Regions from separate parts of the Homo sapiens genome. Here all the other regions are linked to region 3. The links are contacts of gene promoters, found by promoter capture Hi-C in human tissues and cell types (Jung and others, 2019). All regions are on one chromosome and are shown on one strand. Each heading gives the region's core, a stretch centred on a gene start or on the middle of the fragment in contact. The rest is flanking DNA. Distances are from core to core; before and after follow the strand shown.

The links. The method cuts DNA at HindIII sites, captures the fragments that hold promoters and counts their contacts. A contact is called where the count stands out against the background at its distance.
Region 1: a contact is called between the fragment with the promoter of PRODH2 here and the fragment with the promoter of OVOL3 in region 3, in 1 of the 25 tissues and cell types used here (mesenchymal stem cells).
Region 2: a contact is called between a fragment that was not itself captured here and the fragment with the promoter of OVOL3 in region 3, in 2 of the 25 tissues and cell types used here (mesenchymal stem cells and spleen).

What each region holds. Positions count from the first base shown.
Region 1 is chr19:35,811,132-35,814,780 of GRCh38, reverse strand. PRODH2 (proline dehydrogenase 2) reads left to right here and starts at 1,936. Exons shown (of 10, transcript NM_021232.2): 1 at 1,936-2,149; 2 at 2,225-2,421; 3 at 2,509-2,647; 4 at 2,733-2,819. The coding sequence starts at 1,976. The HindIII fragment of the contact is 15,660 bases long and covers 1-3,649 here.
Region 2 is chr19:35,846,865-35,850,398 of GRCh38, reverse strand. It overlaps NPHS1 (NPHS1 adhesion molecule, nephrin), which reads left to right. Exons shown (of 29, transcript NM_004646.4): 5 at 1-35; 6 at 746-849; 7 at 1,036-1,163; 8 at 1,252-1,423; 9 at 1,605-1,762; 10 at 2,002-2,146; 11 at 2,234-2,358. Among named protein-coding and RNA genes, the nearest start is that of NPHS1, 3.9 kb to the left of the region's middle. RefSeq lists a silencer at 2,114-2,289. The HindIII fragment of the contact is 9,341 bases long and covers 1-3,534 here.
Region 3 is chr19:36,109,013-36,112,407 of GRCh38, reverse strand. OVOL3 (ovo like zinc finger 3) reads right to left here and starts at 1,265. Exons shown (of 4, transcript NM_001302757.2): 1 at 1,112-1,265; 2 at 975-1,039. The coding sequence starts at 1,205. It also overlaps a transcript of WDR62 not described here. RefSeq lists enhancers at 406-1,035, 1,036-1,666. The HindIII fragment of the contact is 22,945 bases long and covers 1-3,395 here.

The DNA of each region.
Region 1 (3,649 bases), core at 687-3,186, 300 kb after region 3:
GTTAGCCAGGCGCGGTGGCAGACGCCTGTAATCCTAGCTACTCGGGAGGCTGAGGCAGGATAATTGCTTGAACCCGGGGGCAGAGGCTGTAGTGAGCCGAGATCGTGCCACTGCACTCCAGCCTGGGCAACAGAGTAAGACTCTGTCTCAAAAAAAAAAAAAAAAAAAAAAAAAGACCTAGGACTTCACGCCTGTAATCCCAGCATGTTGGGAGGACAAGTAGGGTGGATCACTTGAGGTCAGGAGCTCAAGACCAGCCTGGCCAACATGGTGAAACCCCATATCTACAAAAATACAAAAATTAGCCAGGTGTGGTGGTGGGTGCCTGTAGTCCCAGCTACTCAGGGGGCTAAAGCAGAAGAATCACTTGAACCCGGGAGATGGGGGTTGCAGTGAGCCGAGATCGCACCACTGCACTCCAGCCTGGGTGACAGAGCAAGGATACGTCTAACAAAACAAAACAAAAAAATTAAGACATATGGTTTCCATTTTAAAAAAAGAAAATAGGATATAGAAGTCCCCATATCCCTCTACCCCATTACAATTCCTCCCATCCCCCACAATCAACCACCTCTCTGACTTCTGTGATAATCATGTCCTTACTTTTCTTGTCCTCATAGTTTGACCACCCACGCATGTATTCCCAACATTTTACTGCAGTTTCACTTTCCTTGCTTTTATATTTATTGAAAAGTATAGACCAGCCACAGTGGCTCATGCCTGTAATCCCAGCACTTTGGAAGGCTGAGGCGGGCAGATCACCTGAGGTCGGGAGTTCAAGACCAGTCTGACCAACATGGAGAAACCCTGTCTCTACTAAAAATACAAAATTAGTGGGGCGTGGTGGCACATGCCTGTAATCCCAGCTACTCTGGAAGCTGAGGCAAGAGAATCGCTTGAACCCGGGGGGTGAAGGTTGCAGTGAGCTGAGATTGTGCCATTGCACTCTAGCCTGGGCAACAAGAGTGAAACTGTGTCTCAAAAAAAAAAAAAAAAAAAAAAAAAAAAGAATAATACAGCTTGCCCTGTTTGGTGTCTGGCTTCTTTCACTTGACATTGTGAGATTCAGCCACACAGTTGTGTGTATCAGTATCCATTCTTTTTCATTACTGTATAGTATTCCATTGCATAACTACACCACCATATATGTATCCATTCTCCTTTTGATGGACATTTGGGTAGTTCAGACACTGCTCCTCTGAACATTCTTTCCTGTACATGTTTCCTGCTGTCCATGTTTAAGGTCTCTAGGATATGTACTTAGCATGGAACAGCTGGGTTATATAGGTTATTTGTCTTTTCTTTTTTCTTTTTTTGGCGACAGAGTCTCACTTTGTCACCCAGGGTGGAGTGCAGTGGCACAATCACAGCTCACTGCACCCTTGACCTCCCAGGCTCAAGAGATCCACCTTCCTCGGCCTCCTGAGTAGCTAGGACCACAGGTGTGTGCCACCACACACAGTTAATTTTTGTATTTTTTGTAGAGATGGGGTCTCACTATGTCGCCCAGGGTAGTCTCAAACTCCTCGGTCTTGGCCTCCCAAAGTGTTGGGATTACAAACGTGAGAACCGTATTTTCAAATGTATTCAATAACACTACAGCGTTTCCAATTTTAAGAGGAAGCAATTGCCACAAAAGTGATTAAGTAGCCTGTCCTGGATCACAAAGCCCGGTGTCCTGAGCCCAGGGATCCTTGCTCCGGAGCCCCTGCTTTCCCCAGCACATGGTGGTTACCTAATAAGTGCAGGCTGTTGTGCTGAGCATTCTTGGGGGCTGTTACTGGGGTTCACCTCCCGTTTCCGTTACTCTGAACTCTGTCCCCATTTGTTAATAATTAATTGCCCCCAAGGAGCCTGTGATCCTGAGGCTTTGCCCAGTTAATCAGTCACTGCCCCTGGTCTGGGCAAGGGGCAGTTGGTGAACTTGCTGCCTCCAGAGAACCTTCCCTGGTGTGGAGGCAGCCAGGGACCCAGGATGCTCCGGACCTGTTACGTGCTCTGTTCCCAAGCTGGTCCCCCCTCCAGGGGCTGGCAGTCCCTGAGCTTTGATGGCGGGGCCTTCCACCTTAAGGGCACAGGAGAGCTGACACGGGCCTTGCTGGTTCTCCGGCTGTGTGCCTGGCCCCCACTCGTCACTCACGGGCTGTTGGTGAGCAGTGATCCTGAGGACCAGCCTGGAGGCTCCTCATAGCCTGGCGCTGAGCCCTCGCTCCCTGTCACCCAGCTCCAGGCCTGGTCTCGGCGACTCCTGGGCTCCCGGCTCTCAGGCGCATTTCTCCGAGCATCCGTCTATGGGCAGTTTGTGGCTGGTGAGACAGCAGAGGAGGTGAAGGGCTGCGTGCAGCAGCTGCGGACCCTCAGCCTCCGACCACTGCTGGCAGTGCCCACTGAGGAGGAGCCGGACTCTGCTGCCAAGAGTGGGTGAGTAGGGAGCCAGGGCCCAGGGAGGCTGGGAGGACGCAGGAAGGGGCTTTGCTGTTCGGGCCCTGACACCTGCTGGCTGGGCAGTGAGGCGTGGTATGAGGGGAACCTCGGTGCTATGCTGCGGTGTGTGGACCTGTCACGGGGCCTCCTGGAGCCCCCCAGCCTGGCTGAGGCCAGCCTCATGCAGCTGAAGGTGACGGCGCTGACCAGTACTCGGCTCTGTGTAAGGAGTGCAAAGACGGGGGTGCGGGGAGGGCGCGGCTGCCCATCGGGCTCCCCTCACCACCCCGCCTACCACCCCATTTCAGAAGGAGCTAGCCTCGTGGGTCAGAAGGCCAGGAGCCTCCTTGGAGCTGAGCCCCGAGAGGCTGGCTGAAGCTATGGACTCTGGGCAGGTAAGGATCTCAAGCGGGACTGTCGGGGACAGAGTGCCTTGGACTTAGATGCGGCCACACCGCACGCCAGATGTTCAAAATGCTACGGCCACCTCCAGGCTTGGAACAGCCAGCAGAAGTGCAGCTGTAGCTCCCAGGCATGGTTGAAATGGATGGAATCAGGGTCATCTGGGTTCTCAGGGAGGAGCCTGGAGGCTGGAGGCTCTCAGAGGAGGGATTGGGATAGAAGCTGTTTATCAATTAGAAGGAGGTACATCAGTGTGTTCTCAGTCAACACAGCTGCATGGGTGTGAGCTGGCTGGGTGTAAGTTCTGATTAGGCCAATGGGGTCTTAGTTTGTTCATTCAATCATTAATTCCTTTTTATCTCCACATTCTCTTTCAACCCTACTCCATCTTTTTTTCTTTCTTTCTCTCTCTCTCCTTCCTTCCTCTTCCTCTTTTGCTCTCTCTCCTTCCTTCCTTCTTTTCTTTTTCCTTCTCTCCCCTCCCTCCCTCCCTCCCTTCCTTCCTTCCTTCCTTTATTCCTTCCTTCCTTCCTTCTCTCTCCTCCCTCCTCTCTCTCTCTCTCTCTCTTTCTCTTTGTCTTACTGTATTGCACAGGGTGGTCTCTAACTCATGGCCTCAAGCAATCCCCCAGCCTCAGCCCCCCAAAGTTCTGGGATTATAGGTGTGAGCCACCACACCCAGCCTGCCGTCTTGTATAATGCATATCTTTTTGTTTCTATGATTTTGTTTTGCCAGGTGTATACCATTCGTGGGGGGCATATTTTCCCCAATATTCTATTATAAAAATTTTCAAATATACAGAAAAGTAAAAAGAATTGTACA
Region 2 (3,534 bases), core at 777-3,276, 260 kb after region 3:
CAGCAGAAACTCTTCACTGTGGAGGCCACAGCCAGGTGTGGAAACTGAAACAACCCCCCAACCTTGACCCCTAATTTTCCCCATGGGAACCCCAGACCCCAGGGATGCAAGCATGAAGCTTGGGCTAGGTATGAACATCTGGGACCCAATTCTTCATCCTGACTCTCAAAGCTTCTTCATGGGGAACAGAGGTGGTGGCTCATGCCTGTAATCCCAGCACTTTGGGAGGCTGAGGTGGGCGGATCACCTGAGGTCAGGAGTTCAAGATCAGCTGGGTCAACATGGTGAAACCCTGTTTTCACTAAAAATACAAAAATTAGCCGGGTGTGGTGGCGCATGCCTGTACTCCCAGCTCCTCAGGGGGCTGAGGCAGGAGAATCACTTGAACCCAAGAAGTGGAGGTTGCAGTGAGCTGAGATTGTACCACTGCACTCCAGCCTGGGTGATAGAGCCAGATTCTGTCTCAAAAGACAAACAAACAAATAAACAAACAAAAAAACTTCATGGGAACCTCAGTTCTAGAGTCCCAAGCACTAAAGTTTTGGTCAGATGTGGGGCTCTCTAGGCTCCAATTCTCACTGTTCACCCCCAAAATCTCTCCCATGGAACCCTGGATCCCAGAGGAGATCAGCATGGGGACTTAGACCAGGTGTGGGGACCAGAGGTGACATCCCCACCTCTTCTCCCTGACTCCCCAAATTTCAGATGATGACTCTGACTCTATAACCCTGACTTCTCATCCCAGGGTGACACCCCGGAGCTCAGATAATAGGCAGTTGCTGGTCTGTGAGGCGTCTAGCCCAGCACTGGAGGCCCCCATCAAGGCCTCATTCACCGTGAATGTTCTGTGTAAGTGGAGAACTGGGCCAACTAGGGCGCTGAGGATGGGGAGCAGGCACTGGGGGGTGTGGGGGGATCACAGGGATTATGGAAATTCAGGCACTCAGAGAAACATGGGGGTTCAAAGGCAGGTTGTGGGGCCTGGAAAGAGTGGATGGGCTACTCCAGGCCCACTGAGTGACTGATATCCCCCAGTCCCTCCAGGACCCCCTGTCATCGAGTGGCCAGGCCTGGATGAGGGGCACGTGCGGGCAGGACAGAGCTTGGAGCTGCCGTGCGTGGCCCGAGGGGGTAATCCCTTAGCCACACTGCAGTGGCTGAAGGTGAGGGCAAACGCGGGCATGGGGAATGGGGGGACAGTGGGGTCTGGGAGCCAGTCCTGAGCTGGCCCAGGCCTGTCCCTGTCTCCAGAATGGCCAGCCGGTGTCCACAGCGTGGGGCACAGAGCACACCCAGGCGGTGGCCCGCAGTGTGCTGGTGATGACCGTGAGGCCAGAAGACCATGGAGCGCAGCTCAGCTGCGAGGCCCACAACAGCGTGTCTGCAGGGACCCAGGAGCACGGCATCACACTGCAGGTCACCTGTGAGTCCTGGTGCCAGCTGCCCCCCTGTCGGTCTGTGCCTCAGAGAACCATCTGTGTGTGCCCCCAAATTATGCCTACTGGATGCCAAAGATCTCAGCATCTGTCTCCAGTCCTGTTCTGTCTGGGCTGGTCTGTGAGAAATCCAGCCCAGCTTAGTGTCTTCCTTCTCTGTCCCTGCAGTTCCCCCTAGTGCCATTATTATCTTGGGATCTGCATCCCAGACTGAGAACAAGAACGTGACACTCTCCTGTGTCAGCAAGTCCAGTCGCCCGCGGGTTCTGCTACGATGGTGGCTGGGCTGGCGGCAGCTGCTGCCCATGGAGGAGACAGTCATGGATGTGAGGCGGGGGCCAGGCTCCTGGGTCTGAGCATGGAGGGGGCTGAGGGCATGACTCGTGGATAGGGAAGGGGTGGGTCCAGCAGCCTGGGGGGCTTTCTCCTTGAGGACCATGGGTCCAACAGAGGGGGAGGTAGAGATGTCTCCTGTGTCCCTGCTGGGGACTGGGATGGACTCAGGCCTCTAGCACGATGGATAGGGGTGCTGCAGTCCCCACGTCTGAAGCTCACTCCCTGCCAGGGACTGCATGGCGGTCACATCTCCATGTCCAACCTGACATTCCTGGCGCGGCGGGAGGACAACGGTCTGACCCTCACATGTGAGGCCTTCAGTGAAGCCTTCACCAAGGAGACCTTCAAGAAGTCGCTCATCCTGAACGTAAAATGTGAGCCCCTGCCCTGGCCCAGCAATGCCCCCAAGCCTCAGGACCCAGCACAGAGAAAAAGTCATTCTTCCTTCCTCTCCCCGCCAGATCCCGCCCAGAAACTGTGGATTGAGGGTCCCCCAGAGGGCCAGAAGCTCCGGGCTGGGACCCGGGTGAGGCTGGTGTGTTTGGCTATCGGGGGCAACCCAGAGCCCTCCCTCATGTGGTACAAGGTTGGTGCCACGCCAGGGCTATGGGGGTGGCCAGGAATGTGGGGGAAGGACCAGGCCCCTTCTCTCCTTCAGAATCTTGGGCAATCTTGGAAAAAGATTAAATTTCTTGAAAAGTACTAAAGATTCTGAGGTTTGGCAGGGAATCAGGAAAGACACAAATGCTATGAGAATTAAATGGAATCCTAGGAAAATTCTGGGGAAACAGTGAGAATTTTAGGATAAAAATTGGAATTCTGAATCAAGATTAGGCATTCTAGAGAAAAGGTAATTTCATTAAAATTAAAGAAAATTCTAGTGAAAACCCTCAGAATTCAGGTGAAATGTCAGGAATTTTAGGGAAAGACTTGAATCCCAGAAAAAAAAAAAAAACAATGCTGTAAAATTTGGCTGGGCACAGTGGCTCACGCCTGTAATCCAAGCACTTTAGGAGGCCGAGGTAGACGGATCACCTGAAGTCGGGAGTTAGAGACCAGCCTGACCAACATGGAGAAACCCTGTCTCTACTAAAAATACAAAAAATTAGCTGGGCATGGTGGCGGGGGCCTGTAATCCCAGCTACTGGAGAGGCTGAGGCTGGAGAATTGCTTGAATCCGGGAGGCCCAGGTTGTGGTGAGCCGAGGTTGTGCCACTGCACTCCAGTCTGGGCAACGAGACCGAAACTCCGTCTCAAAAAAAAAAAAAAAAAAAAAAAAAAAGGCTGGGCACAGTGGCTCACGCCTGTAATCCCAGCACTTTGGGAGGCTGAGGCGGGCGGATCACGAGGTGAGGAGATCGAGACCATCCTGGCTAACACGGTGAAACTCCGTCTCTACTAAAAATACAAAAAATTAGCCAGGCGTGGTGGCAGGTGCCTGTAGTCCCAGCTACTCGGGAGGCTGAGGCAGGAGAATGGCGTGAACCCGGGAGGCGGAGCTTGCAGTGAGCCGAGATCGTGCCACTGCACTCCAGCCTGGGTGACAGAGGGAGACTCCGTCTCAAAAAAAAAGAAAAGAAAAGAAAAGAAAATTTGGAGAAAAGCTAGTAATTCCACAGACTATCGGAAATTCATTAGTATTAAACTGAACTCTTGGGATTTGGAGGCAAGAAAATGAAATTTCATTAAAATGAAAGAGAAGCCTAATAGAATTCTAGGAGAATCCTGGGAATTAGGGAGCTAGTTGAAAACTTTGGGGGGA
Region 3 (3,395 bases), core at 16-2,515:
TTACACGATTGTAGGCATGCGCCACATGCCCAGTTAATTTTTTTATTTTTTGTAGAGATGGGGTTTCACCATGTTGGCCAGGCTGGTCTTGAATTCCTGACCTCAAGCAATCCACCCACCTTGGCCTCACAAAGTGCTGGGATTACAGGCATGAGCCACTATGCCCGGTCTATTTTTCTAATTTTATTGTTTTTTTTGAGGGGGGATGGAGTCTAGATCTGTTTCCCAGGCTGGAGTGCAGTGGCGCAGACTCGGCTCACTGCATCCTCTGCCCTGCCTCCTAGGTTCAACTGATTCTCCTGCCTCAGCCTCCTGAGGAGCTGGGATTACAGGCACGTGCCACCATGTCTGGCTAATGTTTGTAATTTTAGTAGAGACAAGGTTTCAACATGTTGGCCAGCCTGGTCTCGAACTCATGACCTCAAGTGATTCACCCGCCTCGGCCTCCCAAAGTGCTGGAATTACAGGCTGACTAATTTTATTGTCTATACATGCAGCCCCAACCAGAATATAAGCTCCATAAAATTGTGGATTTTTGTCTTATTCCCGCTGAATATAACAGCCCATGCCTAGAACAGTGCCTTGCTTTCATGAATATATTACATTCCGGCTGGCGCTTTCCTTCCTCCAATGCATGCACAGCTGAAAAAGCCCTTATCTCCCATCGCACTCCTGTTGCCTTGTCCCATGTTCTGACATAAAGCGGATCATCCACATGTGGGGATGAATCTTGTGCCCCGCTGGAAGAGATCCCTGTGGCTGCCGGCCCTGGTGCCTGGGGTGAGACCTAACAGTAGAGAGCTCACTACTAGGAAAGGAGAGGCATTCCCAACACAGAGAAGTAGGGGCGGACAGGTCCCGAGGCTGGAGGGCGTGTGCAGATGGGTCGGGGGAGCAAGGGGCTGTCAGCTTCATTAAGGCTGAGAGCAGGCAGGAGCGAAACAGCTGGCTTTGCTAGCCAGTTACACACTCACCGCTGTCCACGGATCCCTGACACTGGACGACTGTTGTGCCGGTGGCCCCCCCAGGCTGCTGCAGTCTGAGGAGAAAAGCCAGATGGTGACACTGCGTCTCTCCTGCCCCTTACCTCCAGGCACAGTGAGGGGCCCACCTGGGATATAGGCATCTCCCCGGAGCTGGTCAGGCAGATGGCCCCAGTTGGGGGGCTGTGGACGCCGACTCCTGACCAGGAAGGCGCGGGGCATGCCCTCCGGAAGGCTCTCCACACACAGGGGCTGCTTCCACCTGCTGTCAGACCTCAGCCCCAGGATGACTATCCCTGGTGGGAAAGGAGGGGAAGCCTCTGAGGAACCTCATTCTCTTCATGCAAATTTCCTGGCTGGCCCTGGGAGTGGACTAAGCTGGCTCAGGTTACCCCTGCCTGGGGACCTGCCCATCTTCTCCCAGGTTTTGGAGGGAACCATCCAGCCTCCAGGGGTGGACAAGCACTAGGACCACCAAGCAGAGCCAGGCAAGGGGAGATGGGCCTGGGGAGCTTTTGAGGATAGGAAGAAGAAACAAGGCCCCAGGGGGACTGTCTCCCAGGGGTTGAGGGTCTGTTTGCCAGGCAAATCAGTCACCAGGGGACATCCAGCAGCCTGCCTGGTTATTCAAATCACAGCAGCTGTCTGAGGACACTGAAGGGGCCCCCTGCTGTGATTGCCCTGCTCTGTAGGGTGCAGGGAGGACAGCAGATCTGGATAAATCAGGGCAAAATGAGGATCCAGGCTGTGCATCCTCAGGTAGGATGCCCCACCTCTCTGATCTTCAGATTCCCAGGGCTAACATTCAGCCAGAAGCACTGTTCAGGTGTAGCAGGCACTAAAATACTAGTTTGTTAATAATCTAGCCCCTAGTTACTGCCTGGGACAACACTCTTCCTCCCTCCCACAGTCTGGAAAGTAAAAGGGGGTCTCCTATTTTTTTTTCTTTTTTTGAGACGGAGTTTCACTCTTGTTGCCCAGGCTGGAGTGCAGTGGCACCATCTTGGCTCACTGGAACCTCCACCTCCCGGGTTCAAACGATTCTCCTGCCTCAGCCTCCTGAGTAGCTGGGACTACAGGCATGCACCACCACACCGGGCTAATTTTTGTATTTTTGGTAGAGACAGAGTTTCACCATGTTGGCCAGGCTAGTCTTGAACTCCTGACGTCAAGTGATCCGCCTGCCTTGGCCTCCCAAAGTGCTGGGATTACAGGCATGAGCCACCGCACCTGGCCCAAAGGGGGTCTCTTGACACAGCCAGGGGCTCCCAGGACCCTACCCCGGCACACTGGCCAAGCTGTTTTACACTTGATTCTTAGCCAGAAGACTAAGAAGCAATCCAAGCTCTGTTTTTTAATTTTTTTTTTTTGAGGCGGAGTTTTGCTCGTTGCCCAGGCTGGAGTGCAATGGCGTGATCTTGGCTCCTCTATGACCTCCGCCTCCTGGGTTCAAGTGAGTCTCCTGCCTCAGCCTTCCAAGTAGCTGGGATTACAGGGGCACACCACTGCACCCAGCTGATTTTTTGTGTTTTTTGTAGAGATGGGGTTTCACCATGTTGGCCAGGCTGGTCTCAAACTCCTAAATGCAGGTGATCCGCCCGGCTCAGCCTCCCAAAGTGCTGGGATTACAGGCGTGAGCCACCGCGCCCAACCTGTTTTTATTTTTTTTGTTTTGTTTTGTTTTGTTTTTTGAGACAGATTCTCACTCTGTTGCCCAGGCTGGAGTGCAGTGGTACGATCTCCACACACTGCAGCCTCCGTCTCCTGGGTTCAAGCGATTCTGCTGCCTCAGTCCCCCAAGTAGCTGGGACTACAGGTGCGCACCACCACACCCGGCTAATTTTTGTATTTTTAGTAGAGATAGGGTTTCACCATGTTGGGCAGGCTGGTCTCAAACTCCTGACCTCGAGTGATCCACCTGCCTCAACCTCCCAAAGTGCTGGGATTACAGGCGTGAGCCATTGCGCCTGGCAACTAAACAATTTTCTAAGCTCCAGACCTAGCTTACTGAAAATGATCGCGTAAGTCCATGAAGGAGGCACACCAGTGACAGCCCAGAATGACCAAGACAGTGAGAGGCAAGTGAGGCAGAGACCCAGCCATGATGGGGAAAAGAGGGGTACCTGGGGACCCGAACAGGCTCCTGATCCAGGCTACGGGTACAGGGATGGCTTCCTGGATAAGCGCTGAAAGGTTTCAGATGAAAGGGGAGGGTGTTCTAGTCAGAGGGGGACATCTGTACAAGGCTTGCTGGTGAGAGGAGTATTTCTTCATTTCTTTACATTGCCCGAGAGTCAGTTGTGCCAATTCATTTGGGGAAGCAAGGGTGGCAGTGCTGAGGGTCTGCTGGCCATGCATTTCCGCTTGCTCTCTGCAGGACCCAGAGCAAGTCATTTCTCATTGGGCCTCGGT